Regions from separate parts of the Homo sapiens genome. Here regions 2 and 3 are each linked to region 1. The links are contacts of gene promoters, found by promoter capture Hi-C in human tissues and cell types (Jung and others, 2019). All regions are on one chromosome and are shown on one strand. Each heading gives the region's core, a stretch centred on a gene start or on the middle of the fragment in contact. The rest is flanking DNA. Distances are from core to core; before and after follow the strand shown.

Evidence for each region. Contacts are between HindIII fragments. The study calls those that stand out against the background at their distance.
Region 2: the fragment with the promoter of IL12RB1 here is called in contact with the fragment with the promoter of BST2 in region 1 in 1 of the 25 tissues and cell types used here (stomach).
Region 3: a contact is called between the fragment with the promoter of ARRDC2 here and the fragment with the promoter of BST2 in region 1, in 1 of the 25 tissues and cell types used here (heart right ventricle).

What each region holds. Positions count from the first base shown.
Region 1 is chr19:17,403,895-17,407,052 of GRCh38, reverse strand. BST2 (bone marrow stromal cell antigen 2) reads left to right here and starts at 1,423. Exons shown (of 5, transcript NM_004335.4): 1 at 1,423-1,762; 2 at 2,616-2,682; 3 at 2,864-2,924. The coding sequence starts at 1,478. BISPR (BST2 interferon stimulated positive regulator) reads right to left here and starts at 1,367. Exons shown (of 4, transcript NR_130766.1): 1 at 1,282-1,367; 2 at 757-976. It also overlaps a transcript of MVB12A not described here. RefSeq lists enhancers at 412-461, 662-711, 762-821, 1,012-1,391, 1,462-1,521 and 1 more. The HindIII fragment of the contact is 15,018 bases long and covers 1-2,215 here.
Region 2 is chr19:18,085,325-18,088,482 of GRCh38, reverse strand. IL12RB1 (interleukin 12 receptor subunit beta 1) reads left to right here and starts at 1,549. Exons shown (of 17, transcript NM_005535.3): 1 at 1,549-1,723. The coding sequence starts at 1,660. RefSeq lists enhancers at 1,218-1,277, 1,288-1,637. The HindIII fragment of the contact is 62,137 bases long and covers 1-3,158 here.
Region 3 is chr19:18,006,710-18,009,867 of GRCh38, reverse strand. It overlaps ARRDC2 (arrestin domain containing 2), which reads right to left and starts at 1,698. Exons shown (of 8, transcript NM_015683.2): 1 at 1,284-1,698; 2 at 1,091-1,157; 3 at 750-897; 4 at 174-276; 5 at 1-85. The coding sequence starts at 1,557. RefSeq lists an enhancer at 1,425-1,644. The HindIII fragment of the contact is 21,109 bases long and covers 513-3,158 here.

The sequences.
Region 1 (3,158 bases), core at 174-2,673:
TGTGATTTCCGACCTGGTCCCAAACTAACCCTAAAGTTAGCAGGCCAGAACAGTGCTGCTCAAATAAGTCAGCTTAGTCAAATAAGTCAGGCAAAGGTCGTGTCTTTGCACCTGGAGTCCTGGCCAGGCTGGTAGGTCCCTCCTCCTGGGACAAGTTCACCCTCAGAATTTTCAGCAAGATCATCTCCCACAGCTTGTTAATTGGTTCTTGGTTCTAAGTGATTTTTTTGTTTATTGGTTTAAGAGATGGGATCCCACTCTATCACCCAGGCTTGAGTGCCGTGGCACAATCATAGCTCGCTGCAGCCTCAAACTCCTGGGCTCGAGTGATCCTCCTGCCTCAGCCTCCCAGCCTCAGCCTGGGACCACAGGCATGTACCACCATGCCTGGCTCTAAGTGGCTTTAATGGGGTCCTTCTGAGGGATGTTGGAGTCAGGGCCTGGGGGGAGTTCCCCAGGCCTTCTGGGAGGCCTGGGCTCTGGACTTGACCTCGCCTACTGTCTGGCCCTGCTGAAAAGAAAAAAAAACATGGAAATGGCAGACCTAACAGAATCTGGGCTGTGGTCAGGATGTGGCTGAAGAAGCCACAAGAAAAACATGCAGTCCCCTTTCAGCGGTCATGCCCAGCAGTTGGGTGCCGATAATGGGCCTGATTTCCTGTAGGAAGCCCTGGCTCTCTTGGCCACATGGACAGTGTCTGAGGCTGGCCCTGTTATTCCCCTTTGCAGATGAAGAAACAGGCTCAGAGAGTTTACCTGGTATCCTGGAGTCCCAGGAGCACTTTTTCTGGAAGTAGGAGCTTGTTTCCTGCAGGTGCCAAGACAGAGACCGACATTGTTTGTTGGCTGGGTCGGTCTCCCAGTTTTCAGCTGGCTCCAGTCTCACCTGTTGCTCACACACCCTCCATGTCTCCCATAGTCCCCTCGGTGGGGACAGAGGCACTGGATGAAGCCCTGCTCGTCACCACAGAGACACCTGAACACAAAAACCAGTCCCTGGGGTCAGACCCAGGCCCCGCCCCCAGACCCAGGCCCTGCCCTCACTCCACCACGCAACTGTGCAACCTCAGTTTCCCCAGGTGGAGACCGGACCAACAGTGATGGCCTCTGCCTCTTCAGGTCATAGTACAGATGAATACAGGCTGGCACGGCCTAGGCACTCAGTAACACACAGCAGAGGCACAGGGACTTAAGATGGAGTGTCCCAGGCAGCCACAGTTGGCTGGCACCCAGCTGGGAAGGGCCCAAGGGCTTTTAAAGCAGGGTGAAAAAAAAGCCCACCTCCTTTCTGGGAAACTGAAACTGAAAACCTAATTAATCCTCTGCCTGTAGGTGCCTCATGCAAGAGCTGCTGGTCAGAGCACTTCCTGGAACTTGCTATTGGTCAGGACGTTTCCTATGCTAATAAAGGGGTGGCCCGTAGAAGATTCCAGCACCCTCCCCTAACTCCAGGCCAGACTCTAAAGGGGAGATCTGGATGGCATCTACTTCGTATGACTATTGCAGAGTGCCCATGGAAGACGGGGATAAGCGCTGTAAGCTTCTGCTGGGGATAGGAATTCTGGTGCTCCTGATCATCGTGATTCTGGGGGTGCCCTTGATTATCTTCACCATCAAGGCCAACAGCGAGGCCTGCCGGGACGGCCTTCGGGCAGTGATGGAGTGTCGCAATGTCACCCATCTCCTGCAACAAGAGCTGACCGAGGCCCAGAAGGGCTTTCAGGATGTGGAGGCCCAGGCCGCCACCTGCAACCACACTGTGGTAAGCTCCTCAACTCCTTTGGATGGCCTAGTACTAGGCGGTGGGAGGGACAAGAATCTCTCCCCAGAAATCTGACCCAGGGTGGGTCTCCAGGGAGATGCAGGGGAGGTCCTGAAACTGCTCCTGGGCCCCCACATCAAGGGACCTAGGTTCCCCTACCAGGGTTTGTGGGCCCCTAACCCAGTCCAGGGCACTGGTGTAGGGGCAGGGTGTTAAAACTCTCCAGATCCCCCAAATCGGGGACCTCAGTATCCCCCTGGGACTTAGGTGAATTTATAAATTCTTTCCAGGGCACTGGTGTCGGGGGCCTTGAAACTCCTCGTGGGCACCAGTCCTGGGGGAGTAGAAATCCCTATTCAGGGTTGAAGGGGGACCTCACCAGACCCTGAAAAAGGGGGCTTTTGAAATTTTCACTTCATCCCTAAGAAACTGAAATATTCACCTGGGTCCTGATATGGGGGATCTTGAAACTCTCGCTGGGCATGTCACTTGGGCGGGGAAATCCCACTGCATTCTGGATTTGGTAGGGCCCTCTAACTTTTCTTGGGCCATTGCTCAGGCAATCTGGAAATGTCCACTAAACTTTGGTTATCGATAGCCTCCAAGTTTCCACGTGGGGTGGCCTCAAAACTCCCATTTTGAGGACCCACATGCTTATGGGTGGCCCTGGGAGAGTGTGTGGTTGTGGCTGTTCTTTAAGGTTGGAGACCATGGTGCAGAGAGGGTTGGAAGAAAACCTGAAAGGGGTTTGCATTTAAGCCCCTCTGTCCCCAGGACCTAGGGAGGAGGCCCAGGTCCCAGGGGCAGCAGCCAAACTCCCCAGGCCAAAACCCCAGATTCTAACTCTTCTTAGATGGCCCTAATGGCTTCCCTGGATGCAGAGAAGGCCCAAGGACAAAAGAAAGTGGAGGAGCTTGAGGGTGAGAAAGGGAGAAGGGAGAGGGCCGGGGAGGGGTGAGTCAGGTATGGAAGAGGGGGTGGGGGCAGGGAGACCAGGGCTGGAGGTTGGGGTAAGGGGGAGGTTCTGTCCCAGAGTGGAGCAGGGCCCCAGCATGGCCACATGCTGACCCGCCCCCTGTTTCTGTCCTCCCACCCTACCAGGAGAGATCACTACATTAAACCATAAGCTTCAGGACGCGTCTGCAGAGGTGGAGCGACTGAGGTCAGAGATAGCCTTCCCCCGCTACCCTCCACCTGCCACATTCCTCTCACCCCCACATCCCTAGCCCAAGACCCAGGATCTCCTTTGCTCCCAAAATCCCCATTGCCCCAAGGGATAAAGTTTGAGTCCCACAAAAGGATAACTTAGCCCCTAGGGTCACAGAGCCATGGGTGGCCGCTGTCCATTCCCTCCCCGGTGACTTGGATTGGGGCGGTGCGGGGGGAACTCCCGGGG
Region 2 (3,158 bases), core at 300-2,799, 680 kb before region 1:
AAGCCATTCTCCCACCTCAGCCTCCTGAGTAGCTGAGAATACAGATGTGTGCCACCACGACTGGCTAACTTTTAATTTATATATATATATATATTTTGAGATGGAGTGTCACTCTGTTGCCCAGGCTGGAGTGCAGTGGCGCGATCTCGGCTCACTGCAACCTCCACCTCCTGGGTTCAAGCGATTCTCCTGCCTCAGCCTCCTCAGTAGCTGGGATTACAGGTGCCTGCCACCACACCCGGTTAATTTTTGTATTTTCAGTAGAGACAGGGTTTCACCATTTTGGTCAGGCTGGTCTCAAACTCCTGACCTCGTGATCCACCTGCCTTGGCCTCCCAAAGTACTGGGATTACAGGCGTGAGCCACCGCGCCTGGCCTAATTCTTTATTTTTTATAGAGATGGGGTCTTGCTATGTTGTTTAGGTAGACCCAAACTCCTGGGGTCAAGTGATCCTCCCACCTCGACCTCTCAAAGTGCTGGGATTAGAGGGGTGAGCCCAGGTGCACAAGGCTGGAGCTTGGCATGTGGGGAGGTGGGCATTGTGGAGGGCCAGCATGCTGCAAGCTCTTTGTAACAATTTGTTGGAAGGATGAAATTAGGCCATCCAAGAACACTGCCCTCCTTCAGCTCTTGAGTCTCAGATTCAGAAGCTGGCGAGATGGCCCGGTGCGGTGGCTCACGCCTGTGATCCCAGAATTTTGGTAGGCCAAGGCGGACGGATCATTTGAACCCGGGAGTTTGAGACCAGCCTGGGCAACATGGCAAAACCCCCTCTCTTAAAAAAAAAAAAATGCAAAAATTAGCTGGGCGTGGTGGTGCATGCCTGTAGTCCCAGTTCCTGGGGAGGCTGAGGTAGGAGGATGGCCTGAGCCTGGGGAGGTTGATGTTGCAGTGAGCCGTGATTGCACCACTGCACTACAGCTGGGCCACAGATCAAGACCCTATCTCAAAAGAAGAAAAAAAGAATTTGGCAGCCAGGCACGGTAGCTCACGCCTGTCATCCCAGCACTTTGGGAGGCTGAGGTGGGTGGATCACTTAGGGTTAGGAGTTCGAGACCAGCCTGGCCAGCATGGTGAAACCCTGTCTCTACTAAAAATACAAAAATTAGCTCGATGTTGTGGCAGTTGCCTGTAATTCCAGCTACTCGGGAGGCTGAGGCAGGAGAATTGCTTGAACCCGGGAGGCAGAAGTTGCAGTGAGTGGAGATCATGCCACCACACTCCAGCCCGGGCGACAGAGCAGGGCTCCATCTCAAAAAAAAAAAAAAAAATTGGCTAGAGAGGGCCAGAGACCTGGCCAAGTGCATGGAACCACAGGTGGCCCATGGGCCCATGGGGCTGGCATCTGGGTGTTCAGTTCAGGTCTGGGGCCAGCAGGGCAGAACCCCCTAGAACCCTGACTTGCTCCAAAGTCAGACTTGCTCCAGAGTCTGTGGCCGCCACCATCACCACCACCACGGAGCTGACTTCCTGGGTTTCTCTTTCACTTTGACTTGCCTTAGGGATGGGCTGTGACACTTTACTTTTTTTCTTTTTTCTTTTTTTTCAGTCTTTTCTCCTTGCTCAGCTTCAATGTGTTCCGGAGTGGGGACGGGGTGGCTGAACCTCGCAGGTGGCAGAGAGGCTCCCCTGGGGCTGTGGGGCTCTACGTGGATCCGATGGAGCCGCTGGTGACCTGGGTGGTCCCCCTCCTCTTCCTCTTCCTGCTGTCCAGGCAGGGCGGTGAGTCCCCTGACCCTGGCATGGCGGCTCCTCTTGCTGGGTGGAGGCACGTGTATGTGTGGAGAGCTGTGGGCCTGCTGTGTGGGTTGGTTTCATCTCTCTGTGCCTCAGTCTTTCCTGCTGTCAAATGGGAGATGGGCAGTCATGGCTTCTGGGATCGAACTTAGACATCTTTCCTCTGGTCTAGATTTTCTCTTCTGTGAAATGCACTAAATTTTTTCCACCTCCCGGAGTTCAATGAGAAAAAAAACTAAGGAAGGAATAAAAAGCAAGTATGTATCTAATAGGTATACATAGTATAGTATCTTATGTATGTAGTTTACAATAGATAGACATACATAATATAATGTATACAGTCATTTCCATATTTACGGGGCAATGGTTCCAGGACCCTCTGCAGATACCAAAATCCAAAGATGCTCAAGTTCCTGATATAAAATGGTAAAGTATTTGCATATAACCTATGCACATCCTTCCGTATACTTTACTTATTTATTTATTTATTTATTTATTTATTTATTTATTTATTTATTTACTGAGGTAGGGTCTCACTCTGTGTCCCAGGCTGGAGTGCAGTGGCCTAATCATAACTCATTGCAGCCTTGACCACCTGGGCTCAAGTGATCCTCCTGCCTTAGCCCCTTGAGTAGCTGGGACTGCAGGTGCACACTACCATGCCTGGTTAATTTTTTTGGTGTATACTTTTTACAGAGACAGCGTCTCGCTGTGTTGCCCAGGCTGGTCTCGAACTCCTGGGCTCAAATGATCCACTCACCTTGGCCTCCCAAAGTGCTCAGATTACAGGCATGAGCCACCATGCCCAGCCTTCCCATATACTTTTAATAATCTCAGGCCCTGCACGGTGACTCACTCCTGAAAATCCAGCACTATGGGAGGCCAAGATGGGTGGATCACTTGAGGTCAGGAGTTCGAGACCAGCCTGGCTAACATGGTGAAACCCCATCTCTACTAAAAATGCAAAAATTAGCCAGGCTTGATGATGGGCACCTGTACTCCCAGCTACTTAGGAGCTGAGGTGGGAGGATCGCTTGAACCCAGGAGGCAGAGGTTGCAGTGAGCCGAGATTGCAGCACTGCATTCCAGCCTGTGTGGCAGAGCAAGACTCTATCTCAATAATAATAATAATAAATAAACTTTCCTTCTCTGTACACTGGGGATCAGCGGGGTGCTGACTTTTTCAATGGCTCTTGAGATGCACTGAGTGCCTGTAGAATGCCCACAGCAGTGCTGGCCACACCTCAAGGTCCCAGCGCCTTCAGGGGCCAGGCATGGCTGGAGACCAGCAGCAGGGAGGGGGCGAGAGGCAGCCCACGAGGTATCCTGGAGATAGTGGCAGTGAGTGGTCAGTCCAGGGAAAGGGAAGGAGGATGGGCTTTAGGCTCTCAGGGGTGGGTGGGTGGGTGGGGGTTCTGTG
Region 3 (3,158 bases), core at 449-2,948, 600 kb before region 1:
GTCTGTGTCTGCACCACGGCTGCCCGAGGCAGCACAGGACGTGTGGAGCCGTTGTCGATCTCGGCAAAGACAGGGATGACCTCTCCTGCAGCAAGGAGCAGTGGGGCCTCAGTTTCCCCTCCTGCAACCCCAACACCAGCCCCCGTCCCAACCCAGTCCGGTCCGCCTGCTACCTGGGGTGTAGCCCTTGCGGTCGATCTTGGCCGAAAGGGAGACTAGGCCACGGTTACAGTACCAGGATCGGGCAACCTTTTCCCGAGCCCCCGCTTGAGGTGCCTGTCGGTGTAGAGGAAAGTGACATGGATGAGTCACTTTGTGCAAACCACAGTCGCTGTGGAGCTTCCAAACCACCCCCAGCTGAGGGAGGACTTTGGGCAGGGCTTGGTTTCTTTTTAACAATCCAGGAACTATCCGTTAAATAGAGCCAGGAACACAACCCATCTTATAAAGCCAGAAATGAAATGTATAAGCCAAGTGTTTGGTGTGTAATTCACACTTGGTAAGCCCTAGCTCTGGTCTATTTCACAGAAGAGGCATCTGAGGCTCAGAGAGGGCTTCAAGACACTTGCCCAGAGTCACACGGCAAATGGGTGCAGATCCCAGTGGATTCCACACGCATTCCCACACCTGCCTCCCTCCCTGCCAGGGCCCACCTATGACCTCCATCTTATTGGTTGGTGTCGCCCAGCAGCCAGGCAGGCCCCTTCCTACAATACTCCCAACCTACCTCCCCAAGGGTGGCCACTCACCAGCAGGGCTGGCGTGTTGATGTCCACAGGCTCGATGACAGTGAACACCTTCCTTGCCCGGCGTGCTGGGACCCAGGGCCGGTGCAGGGTGGCCTTGATACAGTAGCGGACACTACCGTGTTTGCCCTCGAAGGATGTCACCAGGGTCCTAGGGTGGAGGGACGGGACTTCAGGGGACAAGATACAGAGACAAGCAGGCAGGGAGAAGGAGACACAGACACTCCGGGGGCCTCCCAGGGGGAGAGTCTTGGGGCTCAGAGGTGCCCAGATATCCAGTATTGGAGGTACCAATCTGGAAGGGGCTGCAGGCTTAGGGCAACCCTGCACCCCAGAGGACTTACGGGGGCAGCTGGAAGCTGAACAGGAACTCATGGCGCCCAGGAGGCAGCGTCGTGGTCTCCCCGGTATCTGCAGGTAGGAGAAAAAGGAGGCGACTGAGCGGTTGCGCTGGGGTCCCAGGGCTGACGGAGGTACCGCCGTCCAGGTGGTGGGAGGCACACAACTGGTGTTGGAGCAGGGGTCCTCCATCCGTACCTGGCGCCAGGAGCGTGGCGCGGTGGCTCACGACCTCCACGCGTTCACTGTAGCTCTGCGTGTAAGCCGTGCTCGAGCCCGCGCTGCGCGACTCGGTCCAGTGCACGTGGGCGCGGCCCCGCGCGCGCAGCCTCAGGGCACCCACACGCGCGGCGCTTGACAGCTCCAGCAGCACCCGGCCCGCCACGGCCTGGCCGCCGCTAAACACGGGCTCGACGCCCGCGGTCGCGCCGTCCAACTGCACCGAGAACGCTTTCACCTTGTCGAATAGCATCGCGTCCGGGGTGCGAACCCACGACAGGCGGAACCTGGCCTCGAACTCGCGAACCGGCAGCTCAAGATGCCGACGCTGCAGCCTCAGAACGCAAAATCGCCGTCAACGCGCAGGCGCGCTCACCAACCGGAGCAGAAAATCCCCGCGCCGTGCGTCGGCGCCGCTTTTATACGGCAGGGCGGGGGGGGGTGGGGTCACCGTCTCTTCCCCGCCCCGGGAAGGGACTCCACCAATAGCGCGACAAGGGGCGTGGCTCTGCCCAGGCGTGGAGCAAAATAACAAACGCCCCTGCTCACCGCCGGCTGCCCCCTTCCCTCGCGGACCCCGGGGAGAAACTGAAGCCCTTAGGCTGCCAGAGCTGGTCTCTCGCGGACCCCGGGGGTAAAGAGGAAAAAAAGAGGTGCAGAGGCAGGGCCCAGGCCTGAGGTCACCTAGCAGAGCCTTCAGCCTCTCGGCTTAATCACTCACCAGCCGCCCCTCGTTGACGTGACTCGAGGCATGTCCAGCCCGATTTGGGGCGGGGGACTCTCGCCCCAGTTGAGGGCCAGAGAGCCTATGACTGTTCCAGGCCTGTTTCCCCCGCTATGCAAAGGGAGAAGTGGAGGAGGTGGGTGGGACCGCCCTCCACACTGGTGCCTGCTGCACCCCTTTCCTGATTCAAGTCCCGCTTAGCTGGTGGCTCTGGGCAAATGACAACCTCTTGGAGCCTCAGTTTCCACCTCTGTAGAGCCGGGAGAAAGTAAAAATCAGTCCTGACCTCAGAAGGTTGTGCATGGATCATCGTGCAGCCCCAGCTGGACTCCTCCAAGAGCCTCGCTCCCGGGTCATCAACCTGCTCTTGACATACCGTCACTCGGTCGCGCCTCGGCGCATTCGCCCAGGAGCGGTACCTACGAAATGATGTTCCCTTCCCAATTTTCAGCCTCTGGCAAACCCTACCTTCCCCGCAGCCCTTGTGCCTGCTCCAGTCATCCTCAGCCCCCGTCCCGCCACAGAGCTGAATGCAGGGGACGCTCGGGCACCCCCAGGTCCACAGCTGCGGTGTGGCCACGGGACGGCGTGACCTCTCTCTGGGCTTCAGTTTCCCCAAAGAAAAGTCGCATGGAGTTTCTCCAGCGGGAGTTGCCTCTGCGTCGTCTGCGGGACGCTGGCGCCCTCTCGTGGCAGCGTAATGCGCTGCCGCTGAACCCATCCCCTGCCGTGACTGTCCGCCTCTGAGCCTGGCTCAGGAGACTTCCACCACCTCAGTGAGGTGTGTGGGTGGAGGGGGCGGTCATAAACAAACACGGTCACCCTCAGCCCGTGATGGGGATCGGAACAGGAACGACGGAGTTGGAGGCACAGTGATCAGCCTGGAAGGCTGCCTGGGAGGATGGGTCTTTGGAGTTGAAAGGAAGGTCTGGGACCTTAGGCCAGGTTTCAATGGATACTAGAGGGGAGACAGTAGGCCGTTAAGTCCGGGAGGAGAAGCGGGATTAGGTAACCCTGAAGGGACTACTGAGCCAGCGCCTCCCTCAATTCATTTCGCAGACGGACCCCAAAGGCCCAGAGATGGGTGGGGCTCTGCCCGAGGTCACACAGCACCTCCACTGGCCTCGCCC